Linked DNA regions of Homo sapiens: all the other regions are linked to region 3. The links are contacts of gene promoters, found by promoter capture Hi-C in blood cells and fetal thymus (Javierre and others, 2016). All regions are on one chromosome and are shown on one strand. Each heading gives the region's core, a stretch centred on a gene start or on the middle of the fragment in contact. The rest is flanking DNA. Distances are from core to core; before and after follow the strand shown. Region 1 overlaps NUDCD3 (NudC domain containing 3). Region 2 overlaps NUDCD3 (NudC domain containing 3). Region 3 holds the start of PGAM2 (phosphoglycerate mutase 2). Region 4 overlaps DDX56 (DEAD-box helicase 56).

Region 1 (2,700 bases), core at 142-2,641, 350 kb before region 3:
TAACTTGGAAAATCCACAGTGTCATCTCCCTTGTTGTTATGCCTGGAACAGTGAGCACTCTGGATAAGTTTTTGAATGAATGAATAGCTGCATGAATGAAGTAGCAAAGCTGTGGTTTGAGTCAGGTGTGTCTGCTTCTAAACCTTATGCTTTTCCCTCTGTGCCACCCTCCTTACTCTATACATACAAGTGGTGCTGGCTTCTTAGAAGGAGAGACTGTCCTGGAACACGTCTCATGTGCATTTATAGGAAATGAACCTCTCTGTATGGTGGGGGCAACTTGGCTTGCACCTTGCATCCCACATGGTGACAGTAAGGTGACTAGGCTTAGTCCCATTCCTGCCTCGGCTGGGTAGGTGTGAAGTCCAGGCTGGCCTGGAGCTGAGTCCCTCTGGCCCTCCTGTCCTGTGCCTTCCGACTCCATGACCACTCCCTCTGCAGTCTCTCCTTCATTCTCCAGGGGCCACTTGAAATAGGTAGACATGTCCTAAACCTGCCCTGTGTGTAGGAGTTTGGGTGGGGTCCATGGCATCCCTAAGAAGACTGAGACTTTTGCAAGTGCCCTGTGCCTTTAAGGTACCACAGGCACAGATCAGTGAGTTGCTGGTGGCCTGGCTTCGGCAGCAAGTAGCTGTGTGCTCAATTTTCCCTTCTTCCCACCCCACATCCCCAGTATATCTCTTACCAGCAACTGGTGACCTCTAGAATCATAGACTTCAGTATAATTTTAAGATCAAAGTCAGACCAGATCACTAGGGATCATCCACACGGAATTCTATTTTCAAATGACTACTTCCTGTCTGTTTTTAATAGGCCAGGAGCAGGAGCTAATAGCTCTTCCCAAGTAGTTTATCCAGAATTTTGGGGTTTTAGTGGGTTAGGTGTTGATTTCCATTTCATTTTTTGTTAGTATTGCCGTGTATGTAGTTGAATAAATTAGGAAAAGCATCGATTGCCATGCTTCATTCACTTGGCTAAAAAAAATTTACAGTTTCCTGGTCCTTTATCTGTCTTCTGAACTGCTCTATGAACCCCTGGGGCTTTCTCTGAAAGGGTTTGTATTAGGCCCAAGCTAAAACTGGTTATTTTCTCTTTTTTTGACTCAAGAGACCCAGGTTAGCTAACAGCTTTCACCATACTTTGCACAGCTACCTGGGACAACTCCCCACTGGAAATGGTGTCTCAGATATGCTTGTTGACTATCTGGGATGTTGATGCCATGATTCTTCCCTGTGGTCGGCACCGTGTTATGAGGGTCCTGCCCTGATGTCTTGTCTGAAGTTCAGATTTACACCTCTCTCAAATGCACTTATCATGACCTCTAAGATGATGTGGCTCTACTATCACCAAGGATAACCCTGGATTTGGCTCATTCTACATTAGACGTTTTCTAAACGTGTGGGCTGTGCTTTGTCCCAGGAACTGGGCATGTGGGAGTCACCAAGACAGACAAGATTGCTGGTTTGGAGCTTATATCCCAGTGGGGTACAGCAGTAAAAGTCAGTAAATAAATGAGCAAGATGGAGGCAGGTGCCGTATAGAACCTAAAAGTGGGTGGTTTGTGTATTTAACCAGCACTCGTGTGGTGCCCTCTCTGTGTCTTGAAATAGTGAGTTGTCCCCCCCAGTCCTCCTATCATGCAGGCAGTCGCTGTGCACCCATGAGGGCTACTGAGAGCTGTGTGTGCATGGTCTCAGCCAATAAGAGCCAGGTCACAATCAAGGCTTGCTCTGGAGCTAGTGCTCTCTCTCACCTCAGAGAAGGGTCGAAGGTGAAGTTTGGTTATAAGTATCAGGATAGAAGGATGGAAGGAAGGGACTTCTTTTTTCAGTGGCTTATTTAATAGTGGCTTGCCTTATTTATTTATTAACACGGTATATCTATGTGACAATAGGCCTTTTGTGATGCTCGCTGACCTAATTTGTACTGGTGACCTGCCTTGGTGGCATGCTTCATCTCCTATGGGGTTGGAAAAACTTTTTTCTCCTTCAATAGTATTTTTTTTCCCCATGTCATTCTTACAACACTGCAGACCTCTTATTTTTTTTATTTTTTATTTTTTTTTGATTTGGAGTCTCGCTGTGTCACCCAGGCTAGAGTGCGGTGGCGCCATCTTGGCTCACTGCAACCTCCGACTTCCTAACTGCAGACCTCTTTTAAAAATTCTTGGCTTGGCATGGTGGCTCAAGCCTGTAATCCCAGCACTTTGGGAGGCTGAGGTGGGCAGATTGCTTGAGCCCAGGAATTTGAGACCAGCCTGGGCATCATGGTGAAAGCCCATCTCTACAAAACAGCACAAAAAAAATTTAGCTGGGGATGGTGGCACGCTGCTGTAGTCCTAGCTACTTGGGAGGCAGAGGTGGGAGGATTACCTGAGCCCAGGAGGTCAAGGCTTCTGCGAACTGTGATTGTGCCACTGCACTCCACCTTGGGCAACAGAGTAAGACCCTATCTCAAAAAATAAATAAAATAAAGTAAAAATAAAAATTCTTGGTCTCTTAATTGCTGAATGATTTTTTTTTTAGTCGTACCTCACTTAAAACTTTGGAAAAAGTTTATTTTGTATCTCTTGGATTTTGCTTGTCTAAGTGTTTTTCTTCAGAGCTGTACTTTCTTTCTGGCCTGGCCAGTTATTCCCTAAGTCTACCTGTCACGGTTGCCTGTCAGCAGTGTTTATTTTTGTTTTTTGTCTGTGGCACC
Region 2 (2,700 bases), core at 101-2,600, 410 kb before region 3:
GAATATTTTGATTTGGGCTATGGAACCCATGGATAGCGAGGGCTGACTATATCTGCTGCTTCTGTTTCTTTGGTGGAACCTTGACTTATACAGATATTTTCATGATATAATGTTAAGTGAGAAGGGGAGAATTCAAACTATATAGTCTAATATCAAATTTGAAAACTTTAAAAATTATGTATGTAGAAAAAAAGCTGGAAGAAAATAGTAGTAGTAATCACAGAGTGGTGGAATTGTGAGTGTTCTTCATTTTTATCTTTGTCCCTTACTATATTTTCTAATTTTTCTGTAATGACCATTTATTTTGTTTTATTAATTTTTTTGTATTCCTTTTATGATCTCTAAAAAATGAAAGGAGGGTATTGGTTTTGATTTCTGAGTAATAGACTAGAATAGCTACTTTGTTGTTTTGTAGAGACCCTATTTTAAAATTCTTGAACCAGTGAATTTTGTTCTGGGTTAGAATTAGAGTTAGTTTTGTGAGTTCTACCTTAAAAATAAGTATAGAGTGAAGACTTGGATATGTTTCAGGAAAGCTAACCTTTCTACTTGGTAGCTCTTTGTTCAGAATAGACTGGTACCGCAAGAATCCTAATCAAACCTTTCCAAGGACTGGAACATTCTCAGCTTCAGTTACTTGTTTTCCTTGAACAAAACAGGAAGTTGTGGCACCGATCTCTAGTTATACCTGAAATGTAGTGTTTTAGCAGATTTGAAAATAGAATGTGAAAGACCATCCTTTTCCTTGTTCTACCTTTAGCTGCACCCCAAGTCCTCCCACCAGTGTTCAGGATGGTTTATCCTATAAATTATAGATCTGCAGTTCTTTTAATTGAGTAATTTAAGGTAGTTATTCTGTAGAAGACCACACAGAAGCACCATCTTTTGTGAGCACTCTGTCTAAAATCTGAGAATCTAAGTCTTAGATTGCTGATATCTGATGACTCTTACTTGACATGTTTTTCGGTTCTAACCAGTATTAGGCAAAAACTCCCTTTTTGTATACTACAGTAAAGTCACATCACATGCTTATTTAATTTAAATAAATTCAGTGTAAGTGCTGGGAAAGAAAGAAACAAGATTAAAAATAATGTATTTATATTTTGTATATATGTATTTTGAATTTTATTTTTTTAGAGACAGGATCTTGCTGTGTTTTTCAGGCTGAACTCGAACTTCTGGGCTCAAGTACTCCTCCTGCCTCTATATATGCATTTTTGTTGTAAGGTGTTCATTACTGTATACAGACAATTGTTTTGTGTTTTAGTAAAGTATAATTTATGTAACAATACAATTCATTCCTTTTAGAATACAGTTTATGACTTTGGACAAATGTAGTCTTGTAACCACCACAGTCAAGATAGATGACCAGTATGGTTTGGCTGTGTCCCCACCCAAATCTCATCTTGAATTGCAGTTCCCATAATCCTCACATGTCATGGGAGGGACCCGGTGGGAGGCAGTGAATCATGGGGGCAGTTATATCCATGTGGTTCTCGTGATAGTGAGTTCTCATAGACGGTTTTATAAGGGACTTTTCCCGCTTTGCTTGGCACGTCTTCCTGCTGGTATGTGAAGAAGGATGTGTTTACTTCCCCTTCTGTCATGATTGTAAGTTTTCTGAGGCCTCCCCAGCCATGCTGAACTGCGAGTCAATTAAACCTCTTTTCTTTATAAATTACCCCATCTTGGGTATGTCCTTATAGCAGCATGAGAATGGACTAATACAATGACATTTCCATTGGTGCCAGACTCCCAGATCCTGGCAACCTTGTGCCTGTGTTCTGCCCTAAAGCTGTTGCAGCATACATTGTTATTTATACATAATAATGTACAGGTTTCATTTATAGTATTTTTGGGGTGATTTGGGGGAAATTTTATTTTGACCTAATTTTACCATCACTCTGATTTTAGCATCTCCCTGACTAATAACCTACAATTGGTCTGAATTTCATTCTTGTTTCTGCCCTACTGTTGCTGCCAGGGCATGTCAAATGAAGATCAGAAATGCCCCCACCCCAGGGCTTAAAGGAACCTATCTTTTTCTTTTTTTAGACGGAGTTTTGCTCTTGTTGCCCAGGCTGGAGTGCAATGGCATGATCTCGGCTTACTGCAACTTCCACCTCCCAGGTTCAAGCGATTCTCCTGCCTTAGCCTTGCAAGTAGCTGGGAGTGCAGGTGCCTGCCACCATGCCTGGCTAATTTTTGTATTTTTTTAGTAGAGACAGGGTTTCACCATGTTGGCCATACTGGTCTGAAACTCCTGACCTTGGGTGATCCACCCATCTCGGTCTCCCAAAGTGCTGGAATTACAGGCGTGAGCCACCGCGCCCGGCCCAAAGTAAATAACCCATCTTATTCCTCAGAGAAGAGAGAGAATTTGCACACAGATATTTCCCTATTTGCACAAGATAGCATCAGAGAATGTGCTTATATTCTGTAAGGATGCTTTACAATTTTAATAGTTGTTCAGGCTGGGTGTGGTGGCTCATGCCTGTAATCTCAGCACTGTTAGAGGCCGAGGCCGGCTGATCATTTGAAGTCAGGAGTTTGAGACAAGCCTCACCAACATGGTGAAACTCTGTCTCTATAAAAATACAAAAAATTAACCAGGTGTGGTGGTGCGTGCCTGTAATCTCAGCTACACAGGAGGCTGAGGCAGCAGAATTGCATGAACCCGGGAGGTGGAGGTTGCAGTGA
Region 3 (2,700 bases), core at 128-2,627:
CTCAGTCATGTTTAGTTGGGCTAGTGAATCAACTCTTGGTCAAAGGGACAAAAGCAGATGAGGAGATGTGGCTTCAATCAGGATCAGTGTGGAACAGTGAGACCTGCGCATGGCACTGCTAGGAGGGATGGGTTCCACCTGCCAGCCTTGGGGGTCCTGGCAGCCGACAGGACTTTGCCCACTGGGACTTGTCTGCCAACCTTTGGGTACAGAGCCTTAGCTTCACAGGCCCCAAGCCAGGAGCCCCTCCCCAGGTAGGCCAGCAGGGATGGAGGGAGGCCTGTCGAGGGTTTCTTGCACACTCAGATCCAAGTCTCAGAGTGGTGGTCCCTCTGCTGGCCTCTCACCTACCCGCTCCTGTTATCAGAAGTGTCGCAGGTGACAGTGTGGTCACTGGGGTGGGAGGAAATGGGAGGCCCTGGATGGGGCCCATGCCCAAGGGTCTGGCCATGGCCCCTTCATTAGGGCCCCAATTGTGACTTTATTGCTCATAGTCTCTTCCCTGCCTTGGTGGCTCTCATCCCCCAAACCTGAATGCAGAAGTCTTGGTCCTAGACTCAACTCCGTGCCACCCTTCAGCCTACGTTGTGGGTTCCTGCTAAGCTGAGCATTTACCTAACAATCAAGACTTCTGACAGTCCTCAGTCCTGCCCCCAAACCCCCTTGGATTTCTCTTTTTCAAGGTGGTTTCGGCTAGGAGAGTGAGCGTGGCTTGGGTGAGGGCAGATAGGGTGGGAGCATGGGGCATGTATGGATGAGACCTTGACAAAGGGACCCCGGAGGAAAGACAGGGGCCCTTTCCCCCTTTGTCCTGGAAACCCGGCTCAGCCCCAGCCCTTGCCCATTCTGCTGCTGCTGCCTGGTACCTTCCACAAGGCCAGACTCCTCTCCACAAAGCTGTGGTCTGCACCAGCTCCTCTGGCTCTCCTCCTCTGCCTGCTGAGGGCCGCCTCCTAGCCTGGCTGCCAATCACAGGAGAAAGGGGTTGGGATTTTGTTTGTGCCTCTGTCTGAGCAGAGAATGGCTGATAGGCCACTGAGCGTTGCCCTGGAGAGCCCCTCTGTCCCTGCTATCCCCATCTCCCCTGGCCCAGACTTCTGCCCTTCACGCCCATCCCTGACCAGCAGCCCCACTCAGTCTGGGCTCTGGGTGCCAGCTGGTTATAGACATGCCACCTGAACCCAGGCCAGGAGCTGGTGGATGCGTGGGGCTATTTTAAGCACAGCCTCTTGGCCTGCACACTCCCCTGGCCCCCAGCCCCCAGCAGCTCAGCTACTGGTCACCTGCCACCGCCTGGAATGCTGATTGGCAGTTGGCTGGGGTGGGTGGGGGCTGGGAAGACACTATTATAAAGCTGGGAGTGTTGGGAAGCAGCCGTCCCCGTCCAGAGTCCTCTGTGGTCCCTGCTGCCACCATGGCCACTCACCGCCTCGTGATGGTCCGGCACGGCGAGAGCACATGGAACCAGGAGAACCGTTTCTGTGGCTGGTTCGATGCAGAGCTGAGTGAAAAGGGGACCGAGGAGGCCAAGCGGGGAGCCAAGGCCATCAAGGATGCCAAGATGGAGTTTGACATCTGCTACACGTCAGTGCTGAAGCGGGCCATCCGCACCCTCTGGGCCATCCTGGACGGCACGGACCAGATGTGGCTGCCTGTGGTGCGCACTTGGCGCCTCAATGAGCGGCATTACGGGGGCCTCACAGGCCTCAACAAGGCAGAAACGGCCGCCAAGCACGGGGAGGAGCAGGTGAAGATCTGGAGGCGCTCCTTCGACATCCCGCCGCCCCCGATGGACGAGAAGCACCCCTACTACAACTCCATTAGCAAGGTGGGCTGCCTTTGCTGGGAAGGCCTCTGGGAAGCTGCAGAGTGGGGAGTCGGGTGGGGGCCCACTGGCTTGGGAGGGAAAGCAGCGTGCCTGTGTCCCCCAGGAGCGTCGGTACGCAGGCCTGAAGCCCGGGGAACTCCCCACCTGCGAGAGCCTCAAGGACACCATTGCCCGGGCCCTGCCCTTCTGGAACGAGGAGATTGTTCCCCAGATCAAGGCCGGCAAGCGAGTGCTCATTGCAGCCCACGGGAACAGCCTGCGGGGCATTGTCAAGCACCTGGAAGGTGAGGCCACCTTCAGGAGCCTGGGCAGGGTGGGTGGGCAGCAGCCCCAGCTGGCTTCTCATCTCAGCAAAGTCTCTCGCCCATGGACCAGGCTTTCTAGGCGTGGGGCTCCACATCATTCACTGAAAAAGGAGGGCTGAGAAGCCATTTTTTAGTTTTGTGAAATTTTCCCCATTTCTGTGTAACTGGGACACACTCCACAGGGGCTGACTGCACTCGAAGCTCGCTGTGTCCCGAGGTGGGGCAGGCTCCAAAGGTGGCATCTGCCAAGGGACACCCAGCTAGGAAACGGAAGGGCTGGGCTTAGAGCATCTGGCTCCAAATCCCAACTTACTGTGGGGCCCTGGACAAGCCACCTCCATCTCTGGGCCTCTCCCTTTTCCGGGGTGGTGGGGAGCTCCCCCTGGTACTGAATTCCTCTTGATGTAGGCTTGGACCCCTCGCAGGGCCCTCCCCCATCAGGTCCTCAGAATCCCTGCATGAGCTTCACCACCTATCTCCCTCTGGAGCCCCTCTCTGGGCAAAGGAAAGACCAATCAAAAGAGGGGTGCAGGACTATGGAGTGGCCAGACTCTGGGCTTGCAGCTG
Region 4 (2,700 bases), core at 189-2,688, 500 kb before region 3:
TGTCCATATGGAACAGTCTGTAAGATGATGCCCAGCAAAAAGGGGTACAGGGTACTGCCATGTGTGTCATGGAGAAGGGAAAATGGAAACATCCACTCCCGGGAGGTTCTGAGAAATGCACAGAAGCAGCTGCCTCATGCCTTTTGAAACACATGAGTGTGTTATCCTTTGAAAAGCTAGGTCTGTGAAGTCACAGAAGAAAGATGCTCACTCTGTGGCTCTCCCTCTTCCCCCGGCAGACATACTTTGAAGACAACCCTAGGGACCTCCAGCTGCTGCGGCATGACCTACCTTTGCACCCCGCAGTGGTGAAGCCCCACCTGGGCCATGTTCCTGACTACCTGGGTGAGTGTGGCCTGACAGGGCAGGAGGCAGCAGGCTGGGGAAGTGGCATTAATTTCTCCACTGCTGGGTCAGCCCCTGTGCTTGGTGCTGGGGATGCTCAGGCAGAATAGAACCTGGAGACCCTGGCAGCACGCGGGCATGTAAACAGGCACACCCCTGTGTTTCTAAACTTGTTTGCTTGGTCCCACGGGTTAGCTGTTGCTGTCTCCATTTTAGAGATGAGGAAATTGAGGTAGTGCAGGGTGGGTGGCAGACCCAGCATTTCAGGCCAGGTCGTCTCCAGAGCTGGGCCAAATGGCCATCCATGGGTCGAAGGGAGTGAACAGGTTTGGGAGAGAGTCACGGGCAGGAGGCAGAGAGAGCCACCTGTGCTGCAAAAGACTCAAGATTAGCAGCTGCTGAAGAGGCATCTGTGGAGTCTCTGGGTAAGAACAGTCAGCAGGGAGACAGACTCTGTAAGGCCTAAACCGACAAGGTAGCAAGAGAAGAGCCAGTGGTGGTGCGAGGGATGCAGGGGTTGGCAGGCATGAGGTCAGGACCCTGGGATTGGTTTCTGTAGTGCAGCCCAGGCTAGAGCTTTATGTGGCCATTAATACTGGGCACCTCTCCTCATCTTTGGCAGGCTCTGGGTAATGACTTCTTTCAGTGTCTCATAGGAGGTGTTTTTGGTAATGAGTATGTGTGACTTTTATGCCTAAAATGGATTGAAGGAGGAGAGTGGTGGAGAGGAGGCTGTGGGCAGCAAGTGCAGGACCCTTCCCAATGCCACAGGGTCTGCTCAGCCTGGACCTGCAGCCACCCAGCGGGTGTGGTGTTGCTGCTATGGAGGTGACAAAGGGTGGAGATGGAATGTTCCAGGGCAGGAAAAGCCTGGGCACTGGGAAAGGAAGGATCCAGAAGAGATGGGAACATGAAAATGCCAGAGAGAGCGGTGGGGGCCGGGTTCCCATGGGACAGTGAGCTGGAGGAGACCCCAGTCCAGGTCCTGGCCTGAGATGTGAGGAGGGGAGTTGGGAGGGTGGGTAGGGAGGGAGAAGGTAAGGCTAGAACTTTGGCCTCAGGAACCCAGTCTGCTCGTATAGCGGAGTCATTTGCCAAGGTGTGGCCAGGAGGTTTAGAAGGGCCAGGAGAAGGTGGAAAGGTGTCAGGATGTGGGATGTTTGACATTTGAAGGGGAGGGCCCAGGTGTGGTTGGCCTGGGGGAGTCCATGGGGTGGGCGAGGTGAAGATAGAGCCAAGATCAGGTGCAGCTGGGATGCGGGGCCCCCTGTATCGGTAGTAATGGGCCACAGGTGAAGAAACTACCTGTTGACTTTTATTTCAGCTGCATTTTCTTTCTTTAAGGATGTCTGTCTTTTTCTTTCTTGTTACATGTTTGTTGTAACAAATCTAAACAATATAGGAGAGTGATTTAAATAGTGGAAGTCTAAGGTGCTCACATTCTCCTGGCCCTGTGCAGATGTGGTAGTGAATAGATGTATGTCATAGGCTGCCAGTTGGGTCAGAATTGGAGAATTTGCTGCAGAATCAGCGGGAGGGCAGGGATGGGAGCAGTAGCGGTGAGCCCACTGCTCAGGCAAGCATCTCTTCCAGTTCCTCCTGCTCTCCGTGGCCTGGTGCGCCCTCACAAGAAGCGGAAGAAGCTGTCTTCCTCTTGTAGGAAGGCCAAGGTACGGCTCCTGGGGACTGCGGACAGCCCCAGGACTCCTCCCAACCTGCTCTTTTGTCATCACCAGAATGTGGAGGCGCCTTGCCCTAGGGAGGGGAAGAGAGGGTGCCCTAGGGAGGGGAAGAGGGGGCACCCTAGAACCGGGCCCCAAAAATCTGGTGTGGGATAGGGGTACTTTTGCAGCCGCCTGCAGGCCCTGCTTTTCTTTCCCCAGCTGCCTTTCCCCATTTCCTTATCTGCAGCACCTTCTGGTCGTGTTGGCCAGTTGCCGGCACGGCTCCCTTTGTGTCTTTCTCAGTTGGGTGGGTGGGTGGGTGGATTGTCTGTCGGCCTGATTCCCCCAACTAACCTGTGACTTTGCCTCCTTAGAGAGCAAAGTCCCAGAACCCACTGCGCAGCTTCAAGCACAAAGGAAAGAAATTCAGACCCACAGCCAAGCCCTCCTGAGGTTGTTGGGCCTCTCTGGAGCTGAGCACATTGTGGAGCACAGGCTTACACCCTTCGTGGACAGGCGAGGCTCTGGTGCTTACTGCACAGCCTGAACAGACAGTTCTGGGGCCGGCAGTGCTGGGCCCTTTAGCTCCTTGGCACTTCCAAGCTGGCATCTTGCCCCTTGACAACAGAATAAAAATTTTAGCTGCCCCAGTTTGTGCCTCCAGCATATGAAAAGGACTATTTGAATCCCC

Evidence for each region. Contacts are between HindIII fragments. The CHiCAGO score rates a contact against its expected background, and 5 or more counts as called.
Region 1: a contact is called between a fragment that was not itself captured here and the fragment with the promoter of PGAM2 in region 3, in 1 of 17 cell types (M1 macrophages). The highest score is 6.6, in M1 macrophages.
Region 2: a contact is called between a fragment that was not itself captured here and the fragment with the promoter of PGAM2 in region 3, in 7 of 17 cell types (M2 macrophages, total B cells, M0 macrophages and 4 more). The highest score is 7.9, in M2 macrophages.
Region 4: a fragment that was not itself captured here is called in contact with the fragment with the promoter of PGAM2 in region 3 in 4 of 17 cell types (endothelial precursors, M1 macrophages, M0 macrophages and 1 more); the score reaches 10.4 in endothelial precursors.

The regions. Positions count from the first base shown.
Region 1 is chr7:44,415,857-44,418,556 of GRCh38, reverse strand. All of the region lies in intron 3 of NUDCD3 (NudC domain containing 3), which reads left to right. Among named protein-coding and RNA genes, the nearest start is that of NUDCD3, 73 kb to the left of the region's middle. The HindIII fragment of the contact is 3,443 bases long and covers 1-2,700 here.
Region 2 is chr7:44,477,906-44,480,605 of GRCh38, reverse strand. The region is part of intron 2 of NUDCD3 (NudC domain containing 3); the gene reads left to right. Among named protein-coding and RNA genes, the nearest start is that of NUDCD3, 11 kb to the left of the region's middle. The HindIII fragment of the contact is 6,664 bases long and covers 1-2,700 here.
Region 3 is chr7:44,064,244-44,066,943 of GRCh38, reverse strand. PGAM2 (phosphoglycerate mutase 2) reads left to right here and starts at 1,377. Exons shown (of 3, transcript NM_000290.4): 1 at 1,377-1,828; 2 at 1,932-2,112. The coding sequence starts at 1,415. It overlaps DBNL (drebrin like), which reads right to left. Exons shown (of 13, transcript NM_001014436.3): 13 at 1-2,700. RefSeq lists a silencer at 361-430 and enhancers at 1,611-1,680, 1,741-1,790, 1,981-2,040, 2,685-2,700. The HindIII fragment of the contact is 4,752 bases long and covers 1-2,700 here.
Region 4 is chr7:44,565,763-44,568,462 of GRCh38, reverse strand. DDX56 (DEAD-box helicase 56) reads left to right here. Exons shown (of 14, transcript NM_019082.4): 12 at 240-345; 13 at 1,939-2,015; 14 at 2,384-2,659. The coding sequence ends at 2,461. Among named protein-coding and RNA genes, the nearest start is that of DDX56, 6.8 kb to the left of the region's middle. RefSeq lists an enhancer at 2,300-2,700 and a silencer at 2,653-2,700. The HindIII fragment of the contact is 3,764 bases long and covers 1-2,700 here.